Linked DNA regions of Homo sapiens: all the other regions are linked to region 1. Evidence: promoter capture Hi-C in 16 types of primary human blood cells and fetal thymus (Javierre and others, 2016). All regions are on one chromosome and are shown on one strand. Each heading gives the region's core, a stretch centred on a gene start or on the middle of the fragment in contact. The rest is flanking DNA. Distances are from core to core; before and after follow the strand shown. Region 1 holds the start of MTRES1 (mitochondrial transcription rescue factor 1). Region 2 overlaps CRYBG1 (crystallin beta-gamma domain containing 1). Region 3 has its middle 17 kb from the start of ATG5. Region 4 overlaps CRYBG1 (crystallin beta-gamma domain containing 1).

The links. The method cuts DNA at HindIII sites, captures the fragments that hold promoters and counts their contacts. A CHiCAGO score of 5 or more calls a contact.
Region 2: a contact is called between a fragment that was not itself captured here and the fragment with the promoter of MTRES1 in region 1, in 1 of 17 cell types (neutrophils). The highest score is 6.2, in neutrophils.
Region 3: a contact is called between a fragment that was not itself captured here and the fragment with the promoter of MTRES1 in region 1, in 1 of 17 cell types (M2 macrophages). The highest score is 6.3, in M2 macrophages.
Region 4: a contact is called between a fragment that was not itself captured here and the fragment with the promoter of MTRES1 in region 1, in 2 of 17 cell types (M1 macrophages and naive B cells). The highest score is 5.5, in M1 macrophages.

The regions. Positions count from the first base shown.
Region 1 is chr6:107,026,187-107,029,540 of GRCh38, forward strand. It overlaps MTRES1 (mitochondrial transcription rescue factor 1), which reads left to right and starts at 2,013. Exons shown (of 4, transcript NM_016487.5): 1 at 2,013-2,085. RefSeq lists a silencer at 1,832-2,301 and enhancers at 2,412-2,521, 2,632-2,731. The HindIII fragment of the contact is 13,635 bases long and covers 1-3,354 here.
Region 2 is chr6:106,438,338-106,441,742 of GRCh38, forward strand. All of the region lies in intron 1 of CRYBG1 (crystallin beta-gamma domain containing 1), which reads left to right. Among named protein-coding and RNA genes, the nearest start is that of CRYBG1, 79 kb to the left of the region's middle. The HindIII fragment of the contact is 5,946 bases long and covers 1-3,405 here.
Region 3 is chr6:106,340,640-106,344,061 of GRCh38, forward strand. No RefSeq gene overlaps it. Among named protein-coding and RNA genes, the nearest start is that of ATG5, 17 kb to the left of the region's middle. The HindIII fragment of the contact is 2,511 bases long and covers 669-3,179 here.
Region 4 is chr6:106,369,585-106,373,210 of GRCh38, forward strand. All of the region lies in intron 1 of CRYBG1 (crystallin beta-gamma domain containing 1), which reads left to right. Among named protein-coding and RNA genes, the nearest start is that of CRYBG1, 11 kb to the left of the region's middle. The HindIII fragment of the contact is 646 bases long and covers 1,468-2,113 here.

The DNA of each region.
Region 1 (3,354 bases), core at 763-3,262:
AAATTAGCTAGGTGTGGTGGTGCACGCCTCTAATCCCAGGTGAGACAGAAAGGGAGAAATTGAGTGTATCTCTAAGATATCTGACCTAAGTAACAGGAAGGGTGGAAGACTCATTAACTGAAATAAGGAATGCTGTGGGAGGAACGCATTGAGACCCGGATCTGGGTTTTGGTCCTATCAAGTTTGAGATTTCCGTTAGATTTCCAAGTGAAGATGTTAAGTAGGCAGTTGTAGTCTTGAATGCAAGAGAATGATCTCGGCTCGCAATACAAATTTGAGGATCGTCCATATATAGATAATATTTAAAGCCACGAAATTGTTGGAGATCGACTGGGGAACTAGGATAGATAAAAAGGAAAAAGATTAGAGGTCTAAGTATGGGGCACTTACTCTTTGGCATTCTAAGGATGTAATGAAAAAACAGCTGGCTGGGAGTGGTGGCTCATGCCTGTAATCCCAGCACTTTGAGATGCCAAGGCAGGTGGATCACTTGAGGTCAGGAGTTTGAGACAAGCCTGGCCAATATTGGTGAAACCCTGTCTCTATTAAAACTACAAAAATTAGCCGGGCATGGTGGTGCGTACCTGTAGTCCCAACTACTAAGGAGGCTGAGGCAGGAGAATCGCTTGAACCCGAGAGTGAAGGTTGCAGTGAGCAGAGATCATGCCATTGCACACCAGCCTGGGGGCCAGAGCAGGCCTCATTCTCAAAAACAAAAAAACAAAACAAAACAAAAGAAAAAACAGGGAAGAAGATTAAGTGGCAAGTGAGGTAGGTGAAACCAATGGGGTATCCTATAACTCAAGTAAGTTGAGGAATGAGACCAGACCTTTGGATTTACATTGCAGAGGTCATCTGTGACTTTGACTAGAAGTTTTGTTAGAATGTTGCAGGGTGACATCTTGTTTGGTGTATGAGTCAGAGTTCTCCACAGACAGACCTAATGAGAGAGGGATGGATGGATGGATGGATGGATGGATGGACGAATGGATGGATAGTTGGTTGGGAGGGAAAGGGGAATTGGCTCACGTGTAAATTGCGTTGGTCTTGAAAAGATGTTTCCTTAAACTGCGAGTCTGACGTATTTGCACATTTTTCTGGAAACAACGCCTATATCTCTTGGAGATGTTCAAAGAGGGCGGGCTCGGTGGCTTACACCTGTAATCCCAGCACTTTAAGAGGCTGAGGCTGGAAGATCGCTTCTCTTGAGTCCCAGCCTGGGCAATATGGCGAAACCCCATCTCTACAAACAAAACAAAACAAAACAAAAATTAGCAGGCCGTGGTGGCACACACCTGGAGTCCCAGGTACTGGGGAGGCTGAGGTGGGGAGAACAGCTTGAGCCTGGGTAGCAGAGGTTGCAGTGAGCCGAGATCGCACCATTGCACTCCGGGCAACAGAGTGAGACCCTGTCAAAAAAAAAAATGTTCAAAGGGGTTAGTGGTCCCAGAGAAAGGATCACTTCATTAATAATTAAGATGATTAGCCGGTCATGGTGGCTCACGCCTGTAGTCCCAGCTACTTAGGAGACTGAGGAACGACAATCGCTTGAACCCGGGAGGCGGAGGTCGCAGTGAGCTGAGATTACGCCGCTGCACTCCAGCCTGGGCAAGAGTGAGACTCGGTTTCAAAAAAAAAAAAAAAAGAAAAAAGAATTAAGATGGCCGGGCGCGGTGGCTCACGCCTGTAATCCCAGCACTTTGGGAGGCCGAGGAGAGCGGATCACGAGGGCGGGAGATCGAGACCATCCTGGCTAAAACGGTGAAACCCTGTCTCTGCTAAAAACACAAAAAAATTAGCCGGGCGTGGTGGTGGGCGCCTGTAGTCCCAGCTACTCAGGAGGCTGAGGCAGGAGAATGGCGTGAACCCGGGAGAATGGTGTGCCCCGAGCCTACTTCCCGCGCAGTCCTCCAAGACGCGGCCTCCAGCAGGGGTCGCTGCTTCGCTGCCGCCCTGGCCTCGCGCCCCGCCCGACCCGCTCTCACTGCGCCGGCGCCGGCGGAAGGGGCGGGGCGCAGATAGGGGTAGCCTGGAGGCCTGCAGTCCGCGCGGCCGCGGGGAGGGACGAGAGGGCCTGACGTACAGGTGAGTGCGCCTCTGCTGGCGCGCCGCGCCGGGCCCCCTGCCCGCGCCCCCTGTCACTTCGCCTCTCCGCCCCGCCCACGCTCCCGCCGGGTCTCCCCGTGAGTGTCCCGTGTCCTGCCAGCCTCGGGACGCCCCGCGAGCTCAGGGCTGCGCAGGGACTGTGGTAATTGAGCGCGGCGAAGCCTTCCGTTCCTGCCTCCTGTCGCTCCTGCTGGCTCCGAATGCAGACTGCGAACCCGGGGACGCAGTTGTCCATTTCCTTTGACCTTGGGGACCCAGGAAGGTGCACTGCCCGCGGGGGTGGGGAGGGAGCGAGAGGAATCCGACCCTGTCTCAGCCCACAGCCTCCGAGGTCTCCAAGTAAAGGGAAGGATCTTTAGCTGCATTAGACTTCAAAGCGTTTAGACCAGTTTCTCCATCTTACGGAGCGGTGAACGGGCTCAGGAATGTGGAGCGTTTCCTGGCGTCAAGCAGGTCAAAGTCAGCGCTGCTTTTTTTACAGACACTGCTTTTCTTACAGTCTTCGGTTAGTTCAGATTGTATACCTCTCCTGAAGATGTCACCCAAAACCTCCTATGGGATTCTGCCGTGATCATCTCTCCACTCATCCCACACCAACGCCAAAGAGATCTTTTAAAATGAACTTCCATCAGGTCACTTCCCAGGGTCCATCATTGCGTGTTCTTTTCCTGATTCATTCGAATGCACCCGTCCTCCTGATCAATTTTTATTCCACAGGGTGTTGTTTTGTTTTGTTTTGTTTTGTTTTTTTGAGACGGAGTCTTGCTCTGTCGCCCAGGCTGGAGTGCAATGGCGGGATCTCGGCTCACTGCAAGCTCCGCCTCCCAGGTTCACGCCATTCTCCTGCCTCAGCCTCCCCAGCAGCTGGGACTACAGGCGCACACCGCCACACCCGGCTATTTTTTTTTTTTTTGAGACGCAGTCTCGCTCTGTCGCCCAGGCTGGAGTGCAGTGGCGCGATCTCTGCTCACTGCAAGCTCCGCCTCCCGGGTTCACGCCATTCTCCCGCCTCAGCCTCCCGAGTAGCTGGGACTACAGGCGCCTGCCACCACGCCCGGCTAATTTTTTGTATTTTTAGTAGAGACGGGGTTTCACCGTGTTAGCCAGGATGGTCTCGATTTCCTGACTTCCTGATCCGCACGCCTAAGCCTCCGACAGTGCTGGGATTACAGGCGTGAGCCACCGCGCCCGGCCTGTTTTGTTGTTTTTTTTTTTGACACTCGCTCTGTCGCCGAGGCTAGAATGCAC
Region 2 (3,405 bases), core at 18-2,517, 590 kb before region 1:
CTGGGGTAGCTATAACAAGTTGCCGTAAACATGGTCACTTAACAGTTTTTTCTCTCTCACAGTCTGGGGGCTAGAAGTCCAAAATCAAAGTTTCAGCAGGACCGTGCTCCTTCTGAAGGCTCTAGGGAAGGATCCCTCCTTGCTCTTCCTAGCTTCCCATGGCTGCTGGCAATCCTTGGTGTTCTCGTTGGCTTCCCACTGCGTCACTCCAGTCTCCTCCTGCATTGTCACAGGCGTGTGGCTCTGTCTATAAGCAAATAGTAAATCCATAATCCATATGTGTTTGCTTTCCCATAACATGCTTACATTTTAAGCAGAGAATCAAAGTTTTTGCATGGTATTTCTTCGGTTGATCAATATCTTCCTTTTTCTACTAGTAAAACAGATAAACTATTGATAGGAAAGTGAGAGGACAAAATGAATAATCCATTGGAATGATTCATGTAATGGTTTGATGTCAAATATTTTCGGTTTTCAAAAATAAATGAGTTAATAGTAATTGCAGTTATGTGATTTTCTCATATTTAAAGTCTAGTAGCATAAATTGTAACTGTTAAATTTGGTAACAAGAGAAAAATATGGTCAGGTGCAGTGGCTCATGCCCGTAATCCCAAAATTTTGGGAGGCTGAGGTGGGAGGATCACCTGACCCCAGGAGTTTGAAACCAGCCTGGGAAACATAGTGAGACCTGGTATCAATTTACTTAAAAAATGAAAAAAAAAAAAAAAAGAGAAAAATATTTTGAGTGGTTCCCAAGTGAGGAAAACCTAAGATTTTCTTCTTTTAAAGAAAAAAACGGATGACAGATTGGGAAATTAATTTTGCTAATAAAATATTTTGATCCTTTTCAGTAAAAAGCAACTATCAAAGCTGGGAAAAATACCAATAGCCTTTATTCTTCCCTTTTAAACAATGTGTGAAATAGAAAATTTTAATAAAATTTAATTATCTCCTTTTTAATTTTATGAATTTCTCATTTTTAGAAGCATCTTTATATGTCCTACCATTATTCAGTTTATAAAAAATAAGTTTGTTTCCTTTTTGAATTATTGTTAATATTCTTTAAAATTTGGTACAAAGACAATATGAAGATATTTTAACTGAAGAATATGAATACAGTGGTTCTTTGTGTTAGATTGTGCCCAATTTTCACAAAGTGAAAGTTTCTACCTTCGTCTTGACTGCAGGAATAAAAATCTCCTGTGAGCAGAGATTGTTGACTCAAGAGTCCTCATCATTCTACCTGATGAGATAACACTCCCTAATTTAAAATATTGTTAAACAAAATAAATATTTTCTTGGGACAGAATGCTTTGTGGTTTAGTGACTCAACTCTCTCTGTACTGGAAGCCTCAACCAGTGGCACAAGAAAAAAACTTGTTTTGTATCATCCCTGACTGAAAAAAAAAAAGCATTTGTTTTATACCCACTGAGTACAGGTTATAGAGACAGAAGGTGATATGGTTCTTAGCTCCTAAAAAGCCTATGATTAAATTGAGAAACTGATATATGTTCCCGGAAAACCTAGATGAACACTTACTAAATAGTACTAGGTGCAACTATATGAAATTGCCATATTTGACTGGTTTTGACCTACAAAAATGGTATTTCATAATGTTGAACCTCGAAGTTCAAAACCACTTACTTTCTCTCCCCTGCATTATGCACATCCTTCAGTTCTCTGTGTCAAGAGCTGTACAAGAAGCCTGTGTTAAGCCTGGCAGTCCCAGCACCCAGCCCAGGGAAGACGTGGGGCTGGTGGCTTTCCCCTTCCAGGGCTGTGCACCTGCTGTGCTGCCTCTCTTCTTCTGCCCTCTACTCTCCCTCAGCTACATTATTTCCACATATAGAATTTTCCTTCCTTTAAAGCACATCCTCACCTTATTTGAAGCACTTTCCTTTCTTCCTCTCTCTCTCTCTCTCTCTCTCTCTTTTTTTTTCTTTTGAGACAGAGTCTCTCTCTGTCACCCAGGCTGGAGTGCAGTGGCATGATCTTGGCTCACTGCAACCTCCACCTCCTGGGTTCAAGCAAGTCTTCTGCCTCAACCTCCCAAGTAGCTGGGACTGTAGGCGCACACCACCATGCCCAGCTAATTTTTGTATTTTTTTGGTAGAGGCAGGGTTTCACTATGTTGCCCAGGCTGGTCTCGAACCCCTGATCTCAAGCGATCCACCTGCCTCAGCCTCCCAAAGTGCTGGGATTACAGGTGTGAGCCACTGCACCCGGCCCCTTTCTTTTTTTCTTTCCATTCTTTGTTTCCCCTTTCATTCCATTATTAATCACTATCACTCAGTTGATGGCTGTAAAGCCTAAAAGTAAAGCTAGTGATGCATTTGTGTGACGGAAAGGGAAAAACCATGAATCTTGATGTGAAATTAGAAATAATAATCATCAACATGTGGTAACAACAAAAGCTCTGTAAAGTCATGTTACAGCCTGTGAAAAATTCTCCACCCACCATCTCTTTCTGATGAAACTGATGTTTCTCAATAATCCCTATTCTTAAAAAGAGAATAATCTACACTTGAGAAAAATAGACACTATTTCTCACACCATTTTATTGCTTTCTTTTTCTTTTTAAAAACTAGTATTGAAACAATTCTGTGATTTATAACGATGTCCTTTTCTTTTTGCTGTAGTGTAATATTTCAGCTACATGAAATTGACTTTTAGGGGCTTATGAAACAGGATTTATTACAATCAGGGAAATCTTGGAGGAAGTGAATTTTGAAATTAGACTTGATGGAATTTGATAGCCAAAGATTACAAAGAGGAGAGGCAAAAGCATTAATAGAAAACCCAAGCAAAGACATATAAATAATGAAGCAAGTTGTATGTATGGGAAGGGCAAACAAATCTGTCTGACCACAGCTGGAAGTCTGAGGTGGAGGGAGGGGAGAAGGAGGTTAGAGTGGTATTGGAACACCCTTAGGGTGGGAATTTGAAGCTGACATTTGGAGCTTGTGACTAGCATCTTTGCAAGGACAACTTTATTTGGATAGATGGAGAGCAGGGATACTGTGATAATCTCTTTTTCCCTCTGCTTGCCTCTGCACCTTAGAGAATTTCTATTCATGAGAGCTGAGGTGATAAATATCAGTCCATCTCAGATTCAGCTTCACAGCCATTCTATTGTCTTCAGTCAGCAAAACTGTATCCCTGACGTGTTGCTAATACATAAAGATTTTTCATGAGAAATGATTTTAAATTAGAGTTCTCTTTTGAAACATTAACACCAGTTAATTGAACTAATTCATTAGGTATTTGATGACAATTCTAGTCGCTACATAAGGATATGTCTAGGAAGCCTTAAAGCAGCTTTGGTCCCTTGTGGAGTTTACCTACCTGGTGCAGGTGAGTGAGAGAAGCCAAAGATATGATTCAGACAATTATGAATTATGTAC
Region 3 (3,422 bases), core at 674-3,173, 690 kb before region 1:
TGGTAGATACATGTCATTAGAAATTTATCCAAACCCCTAGACTGTACGACACCAAGAATGAACCCTGTAGTAAGCTATGGACACTGCATGATAGATGTGTAAATGCAGGTTCATCGATTGTAACCTACAGGCCTTATTTATGTAGTTAGGACTGTCCCAGATAGCTGTGACTACAGGCCCAAACCAGCACACCCAGCTAACATAAAGTGTGTTTTGACTGGCGATGTCTCTGGAGGCAATGGGAGCAATTGAAAAACTACCACAGTCAACTGGGAAATGATGACAAAGGCAAGGCAGTGGGATGAAGAAGAGGGTGGAAAGAAGAAATGTTCAAGAGGAATAATCAAGGACTTTAGTGACTGATTGGGTGAGTTTGTGAGGGCGGCTGAGGTGTTAGTGTTCAGGCTGTTAACCAAGACCAATGCCAAAACGAGATTACCCACTAGCAACACCAAACGCCTGCAAGGATGTGAGCAACAGGAAGTCTCATTCATTGCTGGTGGGAATGCAAAATGGTACAGCCACTTTGGAACACAATTTGGTGGCTTCTTACAAAACTAAACACAATCTTCCCATCTGATCCTGCAATTGGGCTCCTTGGTATTTACACAAAGGAGTTGAAAACTTGTGTTCATACAAAAACTTCTATCCATATGGATGTTTGTAGAAGCTTTATTCACAAATACCAAAACTTGGAGGCAACCAAGATATCCTTCAGTGGGTGAACGGATAAACTATGGTACATACAGACAAATAGAATATTATTCATCACTAAAAAGAAATGTGCCATCAAGTCATGAAAAGACATTTAATGAAACTTAAATGTATGTTGCTAAGTGAAAAAAGCCAGCCCAAAAAGGCTACATACTGTATGGTCCCAACTACACAACATTCTGGAAATGGTAAAACTATAAAGACACTTAAAAGACAAGTGATTGCCCTGTGTGGTGGCTCACGCCTGTAATCCCAGTACTTTGGGAGGCTGAAGCTGTTGGATCTCCTGAGGTTGGGAGTTCAAGACCAGGCTGGCCAATGTGGCAAAACTCTGTCTCTACTAAAAATACTAAAATTATCTGGGTGTGGTGGTGGGCACCTGTAATCCCAGCTACATAGGAGGCTGAGGCCAGAGAATCACTTGAATCTGGGTGGCAGAGGTTGCAGTAAGCTGAGATCACATGGCTGCACTCCAGCCTGGGCAACACAGTGAGACTCCATCTCAAAAAAAAAAAAAAATCAGGGGTTGAAGGGAGGGAGGGATGAACAGGCAAAGCACCAGTGACTCTTAGGGCAGTGAAACTACTCTGCATGACACTAGAATGGTGGATATATGTCATTATAAGTTATCCAAACCCCTAGACTGTACAACATCAAGAGTGAACCCTATGGTAAGCTATGGGCACTGTGTGATAATGATGTGTAAATGTAGGTTCATCAGTTGTAAACTACAGGCCTTATTTATGTAGTGAGGACTGTCTAAAATTAGCCCATGAATCACTGTCTCTAAGCATTGTTGTTTGCTGAAGTATTAATATTAATGATACAAAGAAATTATAAAACTGATAAGAAGAAAATTTTTAGCATGTGTTCCCTAGAGCTCAAAGTTGGTTAATGTCACTCTGGTGGGCAATGTTGTTAGTGGGGGGCTATACCTGTGTGGGGGCAGAGGATATATGGGAAGTCTCTGTACCTTCTATTCAAATTTCTTATGACCCTAAGAATGCTCTAGAAAAACTAAGTCTAAAAAAAAAAAAAAAAGAAAAAAGAAAAACTAAGTCTATTAAAAAGGTGGGGGATTACCTGCAAAGTATCCTTATGGAATTTTATGGTAACATCTAAAGAGATCTAGAGTTTGAGGGAGCAGTCTAGACTGGAGGCATTTTCTTAAGAAGACATTTATCACTCATGTTAGTCTGGGTCCTCCCAGAAGCAGACTCCAGGACAGGATTAAATTTACAAATATTTCTCTAGGAGAAGTCTCTGTGATAGAAAATGTAGGGGGGTCAGGCATGGTGGCTCACGCCTGTAATCCTAGCACTTTGAGAGGCTGAGGCAGAAGGATCGCTTGAGCCCAGGAGTTTGAGACTGGCCCAGGGAACATGGGGACATCCCTGAAAAAAAAAAAAAAAAAAGAAGGCCAGGCTCTGTGGCTCAAGCCTGTAATCCCAGCACTTTGGGAGGTGGAGGCGGGCGGATCAACTGACGTCAGGAGTTCAAGACCAGCCTGACCAGTATGGTGAAAACCTGCCTCTACTAAAAATACAAAAATTAGCCGGGCATGGCGGCACATGCTGTAATCCCAGCTACTCAGGAGGCTGAGGCAGGAGAATCACTTGAACTCCGGGGGGCTGAGGTTGCAATGACCCAAGATCACACCATTGCACTCCAGCTTGGGCAACAGAGCAAGACTTGGTCTCAAAAAAAAAAAAGAAAAAGAAAAAGAAAAGGAAAATGTAGGGAGAGAGGAGGGGCTGGGAAAGCCAGCTGTCAGTGGAGCAAAGGAGCAGGTGGATAGAAGCCAGTTTAGCCTAAGGTAGGTGCAACAAGAAATTTTTAGATGTCTCAAGCCAAAGTCATCAGTCAGAGGAGTCCCATGGAATAGGACTGCCCTCTAATCTCCAGCATGCTCAGTCCCTGGGCCCTCAATCAATCACTCTCACTCAGTAAAGATCTGTGAAGTGTATTCTCCTGACCACCACCACACTTTAACAAATACGTCTTATTTTAATATATACACATCAGTGTAAACAAAAGTTCAACACAATAAACTGTTCTTTGCCATCATGAAGTTCTGAGGGGCAGTGCATAGCTTTGCGTCTCTTGGCCACGGTTTCAGACCTTTCCTCTTCCCCTCTAGATGTCTCTGTAGTTCCTGATACTCAAATACCAGCTATTTAGGGATTAACAGATAAACCTATTCTTCATGCATTGCTGCTACATTGCTTTTTTGCCTACATGTCTTAATCTGATACTTCATTTAAAAAGCAGGATGTTTTGACCAGGCGTGGCAGCTCATGCCTGTAATCCCAGTACTTTGGGAGGCCAAGGGAGGTGGAACACCTGAGGTCAGGAGTTCAAGACCACTCTGACCAACATGGCAAAACCCTGTCCCCACTAAAAATACAAAAATTTAGCCAGGTGTGGTGGCATGCGCCTGTAGCCACATTTATTTAACCTTCCTAAGCTTTATTCTTCTCACCTATGAAATGGGGTAACAATAGTTGCAACCCTATAGTATTGTTATAGTAATAAATTATACATATGTTATATATACATAACAAATAAACATCTGTTTATATATGTGCTGTATGTTATATGCATATTTATATTTATATATATATACAATATTACACAGTGCCTGGTGTATGGTAAGCACTCAAAAAATTAACCATAATAATAACTATTGGCTGGGTGTGGTGGCTCAT
Region 4 (3,626 bases), core at 541-3,040, 660 kb before region 1:
TCGTTTTTTAATCTTATGATTAGGATCAAGGGTCAAAATAATATATGCTGCATATAAGATAAGAAAATAGAGGAAGCATGTGCTTTATAATAACTTCAGACCATGTCTGTGAAAACATTGTTTCCCATCAATATTTGATTGAGAGATGCAGTTTATTCAATATGCACTATGTATCAGACACTGTTCTAAGTGCTTTACAAATATTAACCCACTACAGTTAATTTATAACTTTCCTCAGAGGTAGGCACTATTATTAGTCCCATATTGAGGAAAAATCAGGCACAGAGGGGTATGATTATTTGGTCAAAGTCACAGAGCTCATTAAGAGTGAGGCTGGGATTCCCCAGCCGGTGATCTTGAGTCCTTGTGGTTAATCACTGCAGGTAAATCCCTGCAAGTTAATCACTGTGGTTAATGGTGCTTTCTTTATATTCTTATATGAGTTCATTTAGCCTCTAGATCTCACAAGTAGAAATTAAAATACATATGATAAATTAAGTTTTGGTACTAGACAATTTCTACGTTAAATAGTGGAAAGAAATATGTTAATTAATAGAAATATAAGTTCATTAAAATCTTAGATGAAAAAAGATTTTAAAACAGAAATTCAAAAGTATATATTATAAATGAAAGTATCATGTGTAGATTCTGAGTTTGGGGCTTCTGCCCAAGCTGTGTCAGAAAAAAGCATTACCAAGAGGTGGACCTACTTCGTACCCCTTCTTCTGCCCTGACACAGGCAGGAGAATGCAAGGTCAGAGATAAGTGGTAGATGGGGGGCCCTCTAGTTGCTGCCCATGCTAAAGAGGCATGGCAGAATTTCTCAAGTAGTTGCTTTACCAGTTGCTGCAGAAAGCTGCTCCTGGCTGCTCTAACTTTAGGCCTCTAGAAGCCCTGCTGCTTGAATCCATTGGTTTTACCTCCTGACTTATTCTTGAGGATTCCCTGGCAATGAATACAGGTTCCACCTTACATTGACCTTACACTTCAAGGATTGTAAACCATTGCTGATACTTTATCCCACTTGAGGCTTATAAGGGTTCTGTGAAATAAGCCCATACCCTCATTCTGAGGATAAGGAAACTGAAGTTCATGGAAGGTAATGCAGGTGGAGGAAGCAGGACTAAAACTCAGATTTTCTGATTTTTTCTTAGCTGTTCTTTTGGGTTCTCTTGCATTGTGTACTATACCTTCACTCCTGGCCTGTACCCACCTTTGACAGGAGCCCAACTGACTCATCTGACTTCCTGATGACTATTCCCCTGGAAATCTTCCCTTAGTTTCATAAACTAACAACGATGAGACTGTCTGATCCCTAGATTGAGTGACTAGTTATTCAGCCAGCACCTATAGTCTGGTTATTGACATACTGGATAATTTCTGGGTTTCTACTATAATTAGTACCTCACCTACTACCTAAAAAAAGCCAACAAAAATAAAAATAACTCAATTCATGATTTTTTAAAAAGCTTGCACAAGCCATATTTTATAACAACAAAATGTCACTTAAAGTGATAGAGCCTATCAGTATGATATTGTACCTATGCAAGAACTCCCTTTACAAGGCTTGAAGTAATGCTGGTGCTGTGACACGTAATATAGTGTATTCATAATTTGTCACTTAAATGTTTTCATAATACTGATGGATTCATAAATATCTCATGAAAGCACAGCTTGAGTTTTTGCATCTGCTATTAGTAAAAGGTATGATAGTTGAAGCAACTGTTGACATTCACACTGAAATTCAATGTCTCCTTTATCATGCATGTCATTACAAACCTAAGAACTGGCCCTTTTCAAGCCTGGGCAGAGGAGGCTCACCCAGGCCTTGCCAGCCACTCTTGGCTCTACTGCCTTGCTTCTTTCCCCACTGTTGGCTTCCTTCCCCACCATTTAGCTCCCATGAACTAAGTGGTTGTTATTATCAGCAAAACAAGAAAATGTAGTTACTGCAAGGGTGGGATTACCGAACTATTCTCTTTTGTATTGGCTATCCAAAACAATTTTGTCTGGAGTGGACTCAATTATCAATCAGGAGTCCTTCATTGGAACATACGTAGGGTTTGAAACAAGAGCACTTGTATTCCTGTGTATCAGTATACATGTTTAAACAAGCTTGTCTAAAACTAGATTTTGGATTTCTTTCAAGATAAAAGCAAAGTAGGACTGAATGTCTGCATTTGCTCAAAAGTTTTGACCTTTACTAATTTGCATTTTGTGATTGTCGTAATGTTACCCTGTAAAAGGTTTCAAGTACTTTGGCCTAGAAGTCTTAGTAGCTAGGTGCATTGCTGGCACTTAATTGTATCCTTTCCTGTTGTTCCACTTTTATTAAAAGCTTTTTTGTATGCCCATGAGGAAACAACCAGTCACAATAGCTGATAACTGTTGACAATGTAGAGAGGCGATGTCTCCATCATCATGTAGTTTCTTCCTACAGAGACGCTCCTCAGGAATTTATGCATCTGCTTTCTCACTGCAGGATTTCTGGTTGCCTTTCTGTGTATAAGCATACATTGGCTACAATTCCACTAACTTACAAAGCCAGCAGAAGTTAAACAAAGAGGAGCACCATTTTATATCTTAATGCCACTCCATAACTGATCAACAAAGAACAAACGTATAAGTTGGTGCAAAAGTAATTGAGGTTTTTGTCATTACTTTGTTTTTGTCATTACTTTTTTTTTTTAGATAGGGTCTCCAGTTGCTCAGGCTGGAGTGCAGTGGCACAATCTCAACTCACTGTAGCCTTGACTCCCTGGGCTCAGGTGATCCTCCCACCTCAGCCTCCTGAGTAGCTGGGACTACAGGTACGTGCCATCACACCCAGCTAATTTTTGTATTTTCAGTAGAGACCAGATTTGGCCATGTTGGCCAGGCTGCTCTCAAACTCCTGACCTCAGGTGATCTGCCCACCTTGGCCTCCCAAAATGCTGGGATTACAGGCGTGAGCCACCGTGCCTGGCCTTTTGTCATTACTTTTAATGGCAAAAACTGCAATTACTTTTGCACCAACCTAATAAAAACAGTTGGGTTTGAGCACGTTCACTGAGAAAGATGGGTGTGGCATGCGGGAATGAAGGGAAAGGATTCTTTTTGGCCAGATAATTCTCAATCTCTCCTATAAACTAAATAAACATAAGGACATTTTGTCAATTGTGTATAAGACAAGGGACATGAACAATTCCTTATTATGTGACAGTTGCTTTCATATCAGTGTATCTCATTCAGTCTTCATAGTAGCTGTGCCAAATAGGTATTTCTACCTTCATATTTATAACTGAGAAGACAGAACCTGAAAGAAGTATTTTAGCTAATAAATGACAGAGCAGTATTTGAAATACTTCTTTCTGGCTCTAAACCTCAAAATATTTTCACCACAGCATGAAAAAACTAAAGCTCATTGAACGAGTAGTTGGTAGAGGCTGTGTGTGTGTGTACAGGGGAGGTAACTAGCTAATGAATAAAGCTTCCCGTAGAAATGTAGGTACCCATTTACTCTCAGAGCTGTCTCCCTGAGCAGGGAAGCATTTCCTCCTTTTGATTACATGCACCCTACTTGGTCCCATTGTACAGAAGGGTATCCAGGAACAAAGAATTCATATGCCTTATAAAGTTAATGGGGC